3 separate regions of the Homo sapiens genome follow, and regions 1 and 3 are each linked to region 2. The links are contacts of gene promoters, found by promoter capture Hi-C in human tissues and cell types (Jung and others, 2019). All regions are on one chromosome and are shown on one strand. The core of a region is centred on a gene start or on the middle of the fragment in contact, and the rest is flanking DNA. Distances in the headings are between cores, read along the strand shown. Region 1 has its middle 91 kb from the start of SIRPA. Region 2 holds the start of SDCBP2 (syndecan binding protein 2). Region 3 has its middle 71 kb from the start of SIRPA.

Region 1 (2,934 bases), core at 352-2,851, 480 kb after region 2:
TTCCCGGAGCCCCTCTGCGAGCCACGCGCCCCTCTGGGAAGCCCGCTTCCCCCTGCAGACAGGCGCTGTGACACGCTTGCGCCCCGGTCGAACAGGCGAAGAGGCCGAGGCCCAGAGCGGCGCAGGGCGAGCCTGGAGGCTGCGCCCCAGACCTGGACCAGCCACGGACGCCGCTCCCGCCGCTCCCTCCGCTCCGCTGCGCTCCGCACGCTGGCGCCGGCTCCCCGAGGCCCCGGGCGCCCCGGCCGCACGCCTGGGTAAAAGGTCCCGAGGAGTCCGCAGAAGCGCGCCCACGCCCGAGACGGCCGTTTCCGCCGGCCTGGGAAAGGGGCGGAGAAGGGGGTCGCCCGGGCCGCAGCGTGCCGGTCCCCGCCGGCCGAGCCGTGTTTGGGGCCAGTCCCCGCACCCCGCTTCTTCCCCACCTGGGGAGCGGGGCGCCGCGGTAGGGGCACTGGAGCGCACGATGCACCCCGCCAACGAGTCCTTTCTGCAGACGGGGTTCCTGTTTTCATGCAAATGCCTTTGTTAGCGCACCGGGAACCAGGGGGACGGAACTGCAGCTGACGCGGGCTGCGCGCCGCTTTTCCGCCTTCGCTTGATTCGGCCTCAACGACTTAAACGCGCCGGGAACAAAAACGCCGGCGCCGCGGAAACCCTCAGGAGCGGCACGAGAAGCGCGGCTCCGCTGGGGTCCGCGAGAAGCGGTGCGGGCGGCCGGGCTGGTGCCTGCAGGCCCTCTCACCGCATCACCAAGGGCAAGGAACCTCCAACTGTCCCTCAGTTTCTCTACCTGCACTGGGATGTCCTACATAAGGAGTCAGCTCAGTGCCCGCATCTTGCTGTAATTATTTTGTCCAAGCACTGTGGGAGGCAGCGTTGAGGAGGCTGTTGTGGGGAGTTTGCCTGTCAGAGAGAAGAGGGAAATAAACAAGAAACATACAGACAAAATAATTTCAAATAGCAACAAGTGTTAATATCGTAGCAAACACCAATGCAGCGCTTATGCCAGGCTCTGCTCTATGCTATATGCACATTAGGTCATGTAATCCTCACTCCCTTGTACAGATAGGAAAATGCTGGTTGAATAATCTATTGAAGGGAAATAGGAAGTTGAACAATATGTGGAGAAACAGGTTGCACGATAGGTGGAGAAACAACAGGTTGCACGATATGTGGGGAACCAGGTTGAACAATAGCCTCAAGTGCGCAGTAGGTAGGCTCGGCACTTGAGAATATTGGGCCCAGCCTGGGTTTCGACCCAGCCAGTCCAGCCCCAAGTGGAAGCTTTTGCACACTCCATTACACCAGTTTTGGCTGTACTAGGAAGGATGTAAAGTGGTGACACGCCCAAGAGAGAGCTGGGGCTAGACAGGAGCTGCTCCTAAAAGGATGTCAATGGACGTCTCTGTGCAAGAGAGTAAGCTGAGGCCTGCACAGTGAGAGGAACTAGCCATGCAAAGAGCTGGGCGTGTCCAGCAGAGAAAACAGCAAGGGCAAAGGCCTTGAGGTGGGAGAGTAGATGTGGGGTTTCATGAACATAAGGATGGAACTCAGTGAGCAGTAGTAAGGAGACTGGAGATGGTCAGCAGCTGGGGGTAGCAGGCTTTGCAGGTCTCGGCAAGGAGCTGGACTTTTATTCTAGGTGTGATGGGAAGTTGTGTTGTTATGGCCACTGAAGGAGTTGCGTGGATGGAGTTGGACCAGAGGGTGGGTGCCCTTCCTGCCTTGCCAGCCTTAGGTTCAAGGAGGAAGTTGATTGCTTAGGCCTTAAGCTTGCCCCTCCTCATCTGACCTCCTGGCTTCTAGGACATTCCTGAGGACGTACACCAAGTCTCCAACATTACCTGATGTCAGATCAGGTAAGCCCTCATCTTATAGATAGGGCTAAGACTGAGGCCCTGACTTCAGGGATGTGTCTTCACCTTTGAGTAGGAGAAGCAGGGGTGGTATCTGCTTCATCTACTCATGTACCTGCAGCACCTAGCACAGGCTGACCAGCCCATCCTTGGACCCAGGCAAGCGGGGCTCTGCCCTGGCCAGCCTCCAGCTGCGTACATCCCCACAGGCTAGAGAGTCTGCAGTGCCAAGGGGATATACCCATCCAAGTCTTTGCTCCTTGTCTAGAATACTACAGATTCCTAGGATTCCTGAGCTCCCTACCTAAAAGTCCCAAGCCTGCTGCCAGGCCTCTTCCTGGTCTATTGTCTGGAGGCAGAACACTAAGCCCAGGGTGTAGCCAAGGGGCACTGCAGAGGATAGGGTGTGGATGGAGATTGGACCTGCAGCCTGGGATGTCTACACACATGCAGGTGAGGTGTGCACGGTACAGGATGGAGCTGGGGATGAGAAGGGAAGGTGGCAGTTTATAGGCTGGGAAATGAGCGACCAGGGAATGGGGCTGGCTCTCCCCAGCACCGCCACATTTCAGTGCGAGTATCTAAGAAATCCAAATCAATCCTGGCCTTTCAGGCTGCTGAGAAGTTATACTTACTGAGGAGAAGGATAGAACATTTAAGAGAAGGTATTGGTCTGATTTATAATTTTTAAATATTTAGATTTAAGGGTGAGTGGACACCAGCCTCCACCAATATCAAGAGTGTGTTTGGCCTAGACCCTAGGAGATATTCAATATTTATCAAATAGATGGATGAATCTCATTTAATTTAATCCTCACACAGACTCAACGGAGGGAAATCACATCGTCTGTGCTTTATTGATGAGGGAACTAAGGCTTGGAGAGATTTAATGACTGGCCTATTTGTCAAGTTAGAAGTTTGTCTAGCAGAGCTGAGAGCCTCAAGCCCTAACGTGTCTGATTCCAAAATCCATTGCAATTGGTTCATGACAAGTTCACTCCCATTATGACCACATTAAATATATTATAACTGTTTGAGCATGTCACTCGCTGATCTTTGGGAACATAAGCACTGTTTA
Region 2 (3,114 bases), core at 346-2,845:
CTGCCTGCTGGGGAAAAGCTGTGACTTCCTCAAGCAGACACGCCTGAACCCAGGCCCAGGCAGGGCAGGGTTCAGACTGACTGCTTCTGACTTGTGAGAGCACAGCATAGGCAAATCCCCTTTGAATGTCATTTCTTCCTTTGTAATCTGGATAACAATAGTTGCATCACAGTTGTCTGGAGACTGAAAGATTTTTAAAAAGAGTTAAGGTGTATATGGAAAGCATTTAGCACAGCACCTAGCACATAATAGGCATTCAGTAAAAGTTAGCTGTTTATTCATTGTTTCAGCGCTTACTTACTCAGCACCTGCTAAGTCTGAGTACTGTTCTAGGTATCAGCAGTGAAGGAAAGAAGACTTGGTCCCCAAATGTACTTTCTTTGGGGGAAGAGCTGGATAAATAGGCTTTGTGACTCTGTGTGCTGTGTTAGATGGTGGGAGGCACTGGAGAGAAAGAGCAGGACGGAGGGTCATGTCAGGAGGTTCAGAAGCCTTGCTGGCTGGGTGGGGTGACATTTGAGGAAAGGCCTAATGGGGTGGGCACGGCCATTGCAGAGCCTCTCAGGTGGGAGTTGGTGTTGTGTTTAGAGGACATCTGCCAGTGAGAAGCCAGTTGTGCAGAGAGGGAGTAAGGAGGAGTAGTGGGGAGGAAGCTGGAGAAGTGAGAGGGGCCAGATCCTGGAGGGCCTGGAGGTCATGGTGAGGACTTTGGCATTTACTGTAGTGAGATGGGAGCCACTGGGGGATTTGTAGCAGCAGAGTGCCAAGGTCCAAGGGTTATTTTGACAGGCCTCCTCTGGCTGATGTTTGGAGGATGGGCTACAGGGCAGGAGTGGGAGCAGGAGCCCAGGTGGGAAGTGATGGTGGTGGAATTGTCATGAGCTTGGGCCACTGTACGTGAAGCTGCCTGTCCAGTGCTCGCCCAGCCCATACCAGGCTCGTTTTCTGCCCCATTTTCTGAGACCCTGCTGAGGAGGGCATGCACTGGCTCCTGTGTCCAGTATGTCCTTCCATTCTCCTGACTTTGTGGGCTATTTTCAGTCTCCAGATGAAGAAACCAGTTCTTAGAAAGGTGAAGCCCCTGGCGCAGTTCCCCAGCAGGTGTTTCAGTGCTGTGGCAGGAAGGTTTTTTGATAGAAACAGCCTCAGGCCAGAGAAGTCGGCCTGAGCTGTGGATTCCTTGGGAGAAATGGGCTTTTTGCCTGCCTGCAGCCTCTGGTTTCGGCTGGAATTGGCCTTTCAAGGAGCAAAGTGTGGATCTCATCTCCTTGAGCACAGTCATGGGCAGTCAGAAGGCATCGGGGGCCCTCATGATGTCTGGGTGAAGAAAATCACTCAGCCCTTAATCAAACTTGGTCCAGGGCTGGGATCAGAAGAAGAAACCCCACTTCACACTTGACTGCTTGGAGTGAAGCACTTCGAAAGGAAGCTGCCTGGGAAGTCCCAGAAGGGAAGGGGCAGGGAGGGAAGGGGACAGGGTGAGAGCAGGTCTCACTCATCCCAATCCCAGCCAGGATTGGGTCAGGGCCCCCAGCGCTTACCTGCAGGCAAGGTGCTGCTCCACGACCTTCTCCAGCTGCTGCCGCTGCTGAATCTGTTTCCCTCCCTGAAACGTAGCCCTGTCTCTCAGCTGGCTTCCTGATCTGGGAAGGGTGGTGCCTGTCCCCTGTTCAGCTGACTCACCTTGGACTGGGATGGGCACAGGTGAGGGCTGTGGCTGGGTAAACAAGGCAGGTTGCCAGCCCAGAGGAGGCCTTTGGCCTTAGTCTGGATTTGGAGGTGGGATTAAGGCCCTCACAGCTGCTGTTCAGACGGTTATGAACCAAGACTTCTTGGCCTTTTCTTAAATAGCTCTAAATTTGGGTTGGACACCTAGTCCTGCTGATCGAGGCAGTTGGCTAGAGGGCGGTTTGTGATAGGTATCTAGGGGTCTAGGCCAGGATATTAAAAAGTGGTCATATCCTGTGACCCAGCATTTCTTCTAGGAATTTGTTACAGTGGAGTCACAGGGCCCATCCATCACTGCTGCTTCTAGTAAGGAAAATGTAGAAATCCCAAATGCCCATCTCTGTGGTCTGCTTGAATAAATCATTGTCTGTGGAAGATCACAGAGCTATTAAAGTCACTTAAGGAAGAAGGTATGAGGAAACATTTCTGAGATTCTAGTGAGATGTTGAAAAATCAATATTGTGAATCTCTTCTTGCATTTTGTTTTCATTTTTTGTAAAGTGGATGTGCGTTGAAAGCAGTCTAGGAGGACATACGCTAAAATGCTGAGTATCTCTGAATGGCAGCATTGAGGGTGAGGTTTTCAGTTTGTACTTTTGTGTGTTCCAAGGTGGTTTTTTTTTTTTTAAGTTAGCTTTTGCTCTGAATGCTCATGACTTTTGTAAGGGGGAAGCAATTAAGTTTGATTATTTTAATGGGAATTTAGAGTGGTTGTCTCTTGGGAGCAGACCTAAGGAGCTGTGTGCTGAGGTGGAGATTTTTTTTTTTATGGCACATTTTTGGTGTCTTAAATTTTGAAAAGTTTAAATGTACTACTTATTCCAAAAATAATTATATAAATTTGAACAGAAAAGGAGGAAGAATTTAGTTTAGATCCTGGTGGGTTTGGTTGGGTGAGGGTGCCTGTCGCACTGGGTGCCTGGGGAGGGACGAGGGACTCGTGTGCTGGGCAGTCCCATGAGGATTGACGCTGTACACACTCAGGGTGTGTCAGTATCTGGGCTGCTTCCTGGGCCAGGCAGGCCTACGTCACAGTTCCCATGACCCACCTGGCAGAGTTGCACTAGCCTTGGGTGTCAGATCTTGTGCCTGCCAATGAAGAGCTTACAGCCCAGAGTCCCACACAGGAAACACACAATAGGAATAATAACAAGAAAGACATTTGCCACTAATTCAGCACTTACTCCCAGAGAGCACAGAGATTCTACCCCTGGCACTTTAAAGGCATTATCTCAATGGCTTCTCATGCCATCCCTGCAGAGTAGGTGTGACTCACACCATTCCTCCAGGTGGGGACACTGAGGCACAGAGGCAAAGTTTCTCTCTCAAGTTAGCTGGAAAGTGGGCCAAGTTCATGTCTTCTCTTCTATGGGACATACTGTTTCA
Region 3 (3,188 bases), core at 444-2,943, 500 kb after region 2:
AACAACAAAAACACAACAAAGAAGTAGAAAACATGGCTCATTCAAAGGAATAAAATAAATTGACAGGAACTATCCCTAAGGAAGCCCAGACATTGGACTTACTAGATAAAGACTTTGAAACAACTGTCTTAAAAATGCTCAAAGAGCTAAAGAAAACCACAGAAAAATAACTAAAGGAAATCAGAAGAATGATATATGAACCAAATTATAATATCAACAAAGAGATAGAAATTATAAAAGGGAACCAAATATAAATTATGGAACTGAAAAATACAATAACTGAAATGAAAAATTCACTAGAAGAGTTCAACAGCACATTTGAGAGAAAACAAATAACAAAATTGCAAAAGTTCCTAATTACCAGTAATTAGTTTAAATGTAAATGGATTAAACTCACCAATCAAAAGGCATAAATTGACAGGATGAATTTTTTTAAATATCCAACTATATGCTGTCTACAAAAGACTCATTTTAGATACAAATAGATTGAATGTGAAAACATGAAAAAATATATTTCATACAAATAGTAACCAAACGAGATCTGAGATGGCTATACGAATGCTATACATAATAGTCAAATATGTTTACAAGAGACAAAAAACATTATATACTGATAAAAGTGTCAATTCATCAAGCAGATATAACAATTACATACATATATGCACCAAATAGCAGAGTTCTAATGTATTATTCACCCTGCTCCCCAGACGTTATTCCATGAGAGCAAGAACTGGATCTGGCTTGCTTACTGCTTTGTTCTCATACCAGGCATTTATGACTAACACACATTTGCTCAATTTCCACTATCCCCACTAGGTGACCACAGCAAAAGTGGACAGATAGCGTCTGGCAAGCTTCAGGCAGGAGCTTGAACCTGACCATCTTCAGCTGTCCCAGCTGTCACCTCCAGAAATCTGAGATCCTTTCCTTGCCATCCATGGTCCAACCATGAAAATAGGAGTGAAGGTGTTTAGGAATTGTGATCAACTCTAGTCTCCCCAGCCAAGCACTTCAGGGCTTACGGCTGCATATCAGGGAATCCAGGGGACCAAGGGAGGCGGGTGAGTTCACCATTGGAGTTGTCCAGTCTGAATGGCCAGTGTTACCCATGAGGACCCTGAGGCTCAGAGAGGGCAGGGAACCAGCTGGAAGTCACACAACAAGCTAGTGGCAGAGCTGCTGACTGCCTACCACCTGCTGTTTCTCTAAGTTGCCTTGGCGACTGCCTCAGGGACTGCCCATAGCATGCAATCTCTCTAAGTTATCCCTTCCCCTCCATTTCCCCTTTCATTTCTCCTTTTCTTCGTGTTATTTTTTGTTCTCCATCCCTATACCACACCAGGCCTCTCACGGCCTTTCCTAGATTTCTGAGTTAGACCATCTCATTTGACCCCCACAATGACCTGTGAAAGAAGTGCCTTTTAAAGCCCCATTTTCCAGATTAGATAACTGAAACCCTGAGATAGAAAGAGGTCAGCCAGTGACGCCATGTGGGCCTAGAACTCTGCCCAGCCTCTTTACTCCAGGTTCCAAGGCCTTGTCTGCCCTCAAAAGTATCAAGAGATTTATTTAAGCAAAAAACATCATGCTCACTACAAGCTTCTTAAGAAAGCCTTCTTCCAATCACCAAGACCCCTGGCTGTCTTTCTCCTGTGGATTTTCCCTTTCATCTCAGGATGACCGCGAGATATGAATGTTACCCTCCAAGCTGTAGCATGCAGGAAGGCTGGGGCCCAGACCTCAAGCTGAAGGCATTAGGGTGGGTGTAGGGTGTGCCCAGTTCTAGACAATTTCAACCTCAACAAGCTCAGTGCATTTGCCACTTGATAAGTGCTGAGCTGAATGGTTTGCAGGTGTTACCTCAAATTCATGCCCATCATGCTTAATAAGGTCAAAACCCTTACTTCATTTTGCAATGGAGGACACAGTTTCAGAAGGGGAAGTGGGTTGCACAAGAGCACTGATGGTCATTAGCTGGTCTGCTGGGCCTTGCTCTTAACCCCCTCCTTGTCTTGGATCAGGGACCACAGGGTCTGTGGGTGGTGGTGCATGCAAAACATGAAGATGTACAGAAGGATCAGAGCTTGTGTAAATGTGTGGATTTTTCCAGGTTGCCTTGCCATCACTTGTTTTTTCTTCTAGAGAGTGAGGGGCAGGGAGAGTTCAGGTGGGAAGGCCCGGGATATTTTTGCTGAAACCATCTGTTCTAGGCCTACTTCTGAAATGCCCTGATCCACATAGGGGAGGGGGAAAACAGAGATGGTCGAGAGTCCAGCCAACGTCTAGGGGCAAAGATGAGGGGCTCAGAACTCAGCAATTCGGCCCATCAGTCAGGGATAGCAGCCTAAAACTGTGGTCAGCCATGGGGTCTGGAGAAGACTGGGTGGGATGGATGGGGAAATGTTTCTAGAAGGAAGAAGGAGACTCTGGTTCACCCCCAGTTTGCAGGATGGAGTCATTGTGCCTTTAGGGAAGAGTGAGCAGCTGGCTGGAGGTCTATACTCCTGCCTGCTTGGTCTGGAGTTTCTCTCACCCTGGTCACTTGATCCTCTTACTTTTCCTGTCAGTGAGGAAGCTGTTTACTCCCAGAAAGTCATTCATTCCCTGATAAGATCAATCTCATTGTTAAGCAGAATTTTCACTTCCTGCCCGGGAGTTGGCGTAGCGCGAATGTCCAGCATTCAGAGCCCCATAAACAGTCAGCATGAGAGAGGCCCTAGAGGCCAACACTGCCCAACAGCTCCTGATGTAAAAATGGGGAAACTGAGGTCCAGAGAGAGGAAGAGCAGGGAAAGGAGTCAGTGTCAGAGCTGAGCCCAAATCCAGGCCCTGCCACCGCTACTCCACCATTCCTAGGTCAGGTGGTGTTTTGCATGCCATCAAAGAACCCCACAATTTCATGCGCTCCCTTTTGATTTTAAGATTCAACATGCCATTCTAAGAAAACTTGCTAAGAAAACATTTCAACACAATATAATATTTTAATGTAACACTAATATACTATTATAACATTGCATTCAAATATAATGTTCTAACACAGATTAATATTCTAATTCAACATTTCAGCACAATTCTAACCAATATTCTAATCCTACACTCTGGAGCAACATACCATTCTAACACATAACATTACATCATGTCCTAATGCAATATTATAAGACATTGTACCACAACATTCCAATCTAGGC

Evidence for each region. Contacts are between HindIII fragments. The study calls those that stand out against the background at their distance.
Region 1: a contact is called between a fragment that was not itself captured here and the fragment with the promoter of SDCBP2 in region 2, in 1 of the 25 tissues and cell types used here (lymphoblastoid cells).
Region 3: a contact is called between a fragment that was not itself captured here and the fragment with the promoter of SDCBP2 in region 2, in 2 of the 25 tissues and cell types used here (dorsolateral prefrontal cortex and hippocampus).

Annotation. Positions count from the first base shown.
Region 1 is chr20:1,803,190-1,806,123 of GRCh38, forward strand. No RefSeq gene overlaps it. Among named protein-coding and RNA genes, the nearest start is that of SIRPA, 91 kb to the right of the region's middle. RefSeq lists a silencer at 183-432. The HindIII fragment of the contact is 3,353 bases long and covers 1-2,934 here.
Region 2 is chr20:1,327,544-1,330,657 of GRCh38, forward strand. It overlaps SDCBP2 (syndecan binding protein 2), which reads right to left and starts at 1,596. Exons shown (of 9, transcript NM_080489.5): 1 at 1,542-1,596. The region is part of intron 2 of FKBP1A-SDCBP2 (FKBP1A-SDCBP2 readthrough (NMD candidate)); the gene reads right to left. The region is part of intron 1 of SDCBP2-AS1 (SDCBP2 antisense RNA 1); the gene reads left to right. The HindIII fragment of the contact is 26,056 bases long and covers 1-3,114 here.
Region 3 is chr20:1,822,453-1,825,640 of GRCh38, forward strand. No RefSeq gene overlaps it. Among named protein-coding and RNA genes, the nearest start is that of SIRPA, 71 kb to the right of the region's middle. The HindIII fragment of the contact is 6,431 bases long and covers 1-3,188 here.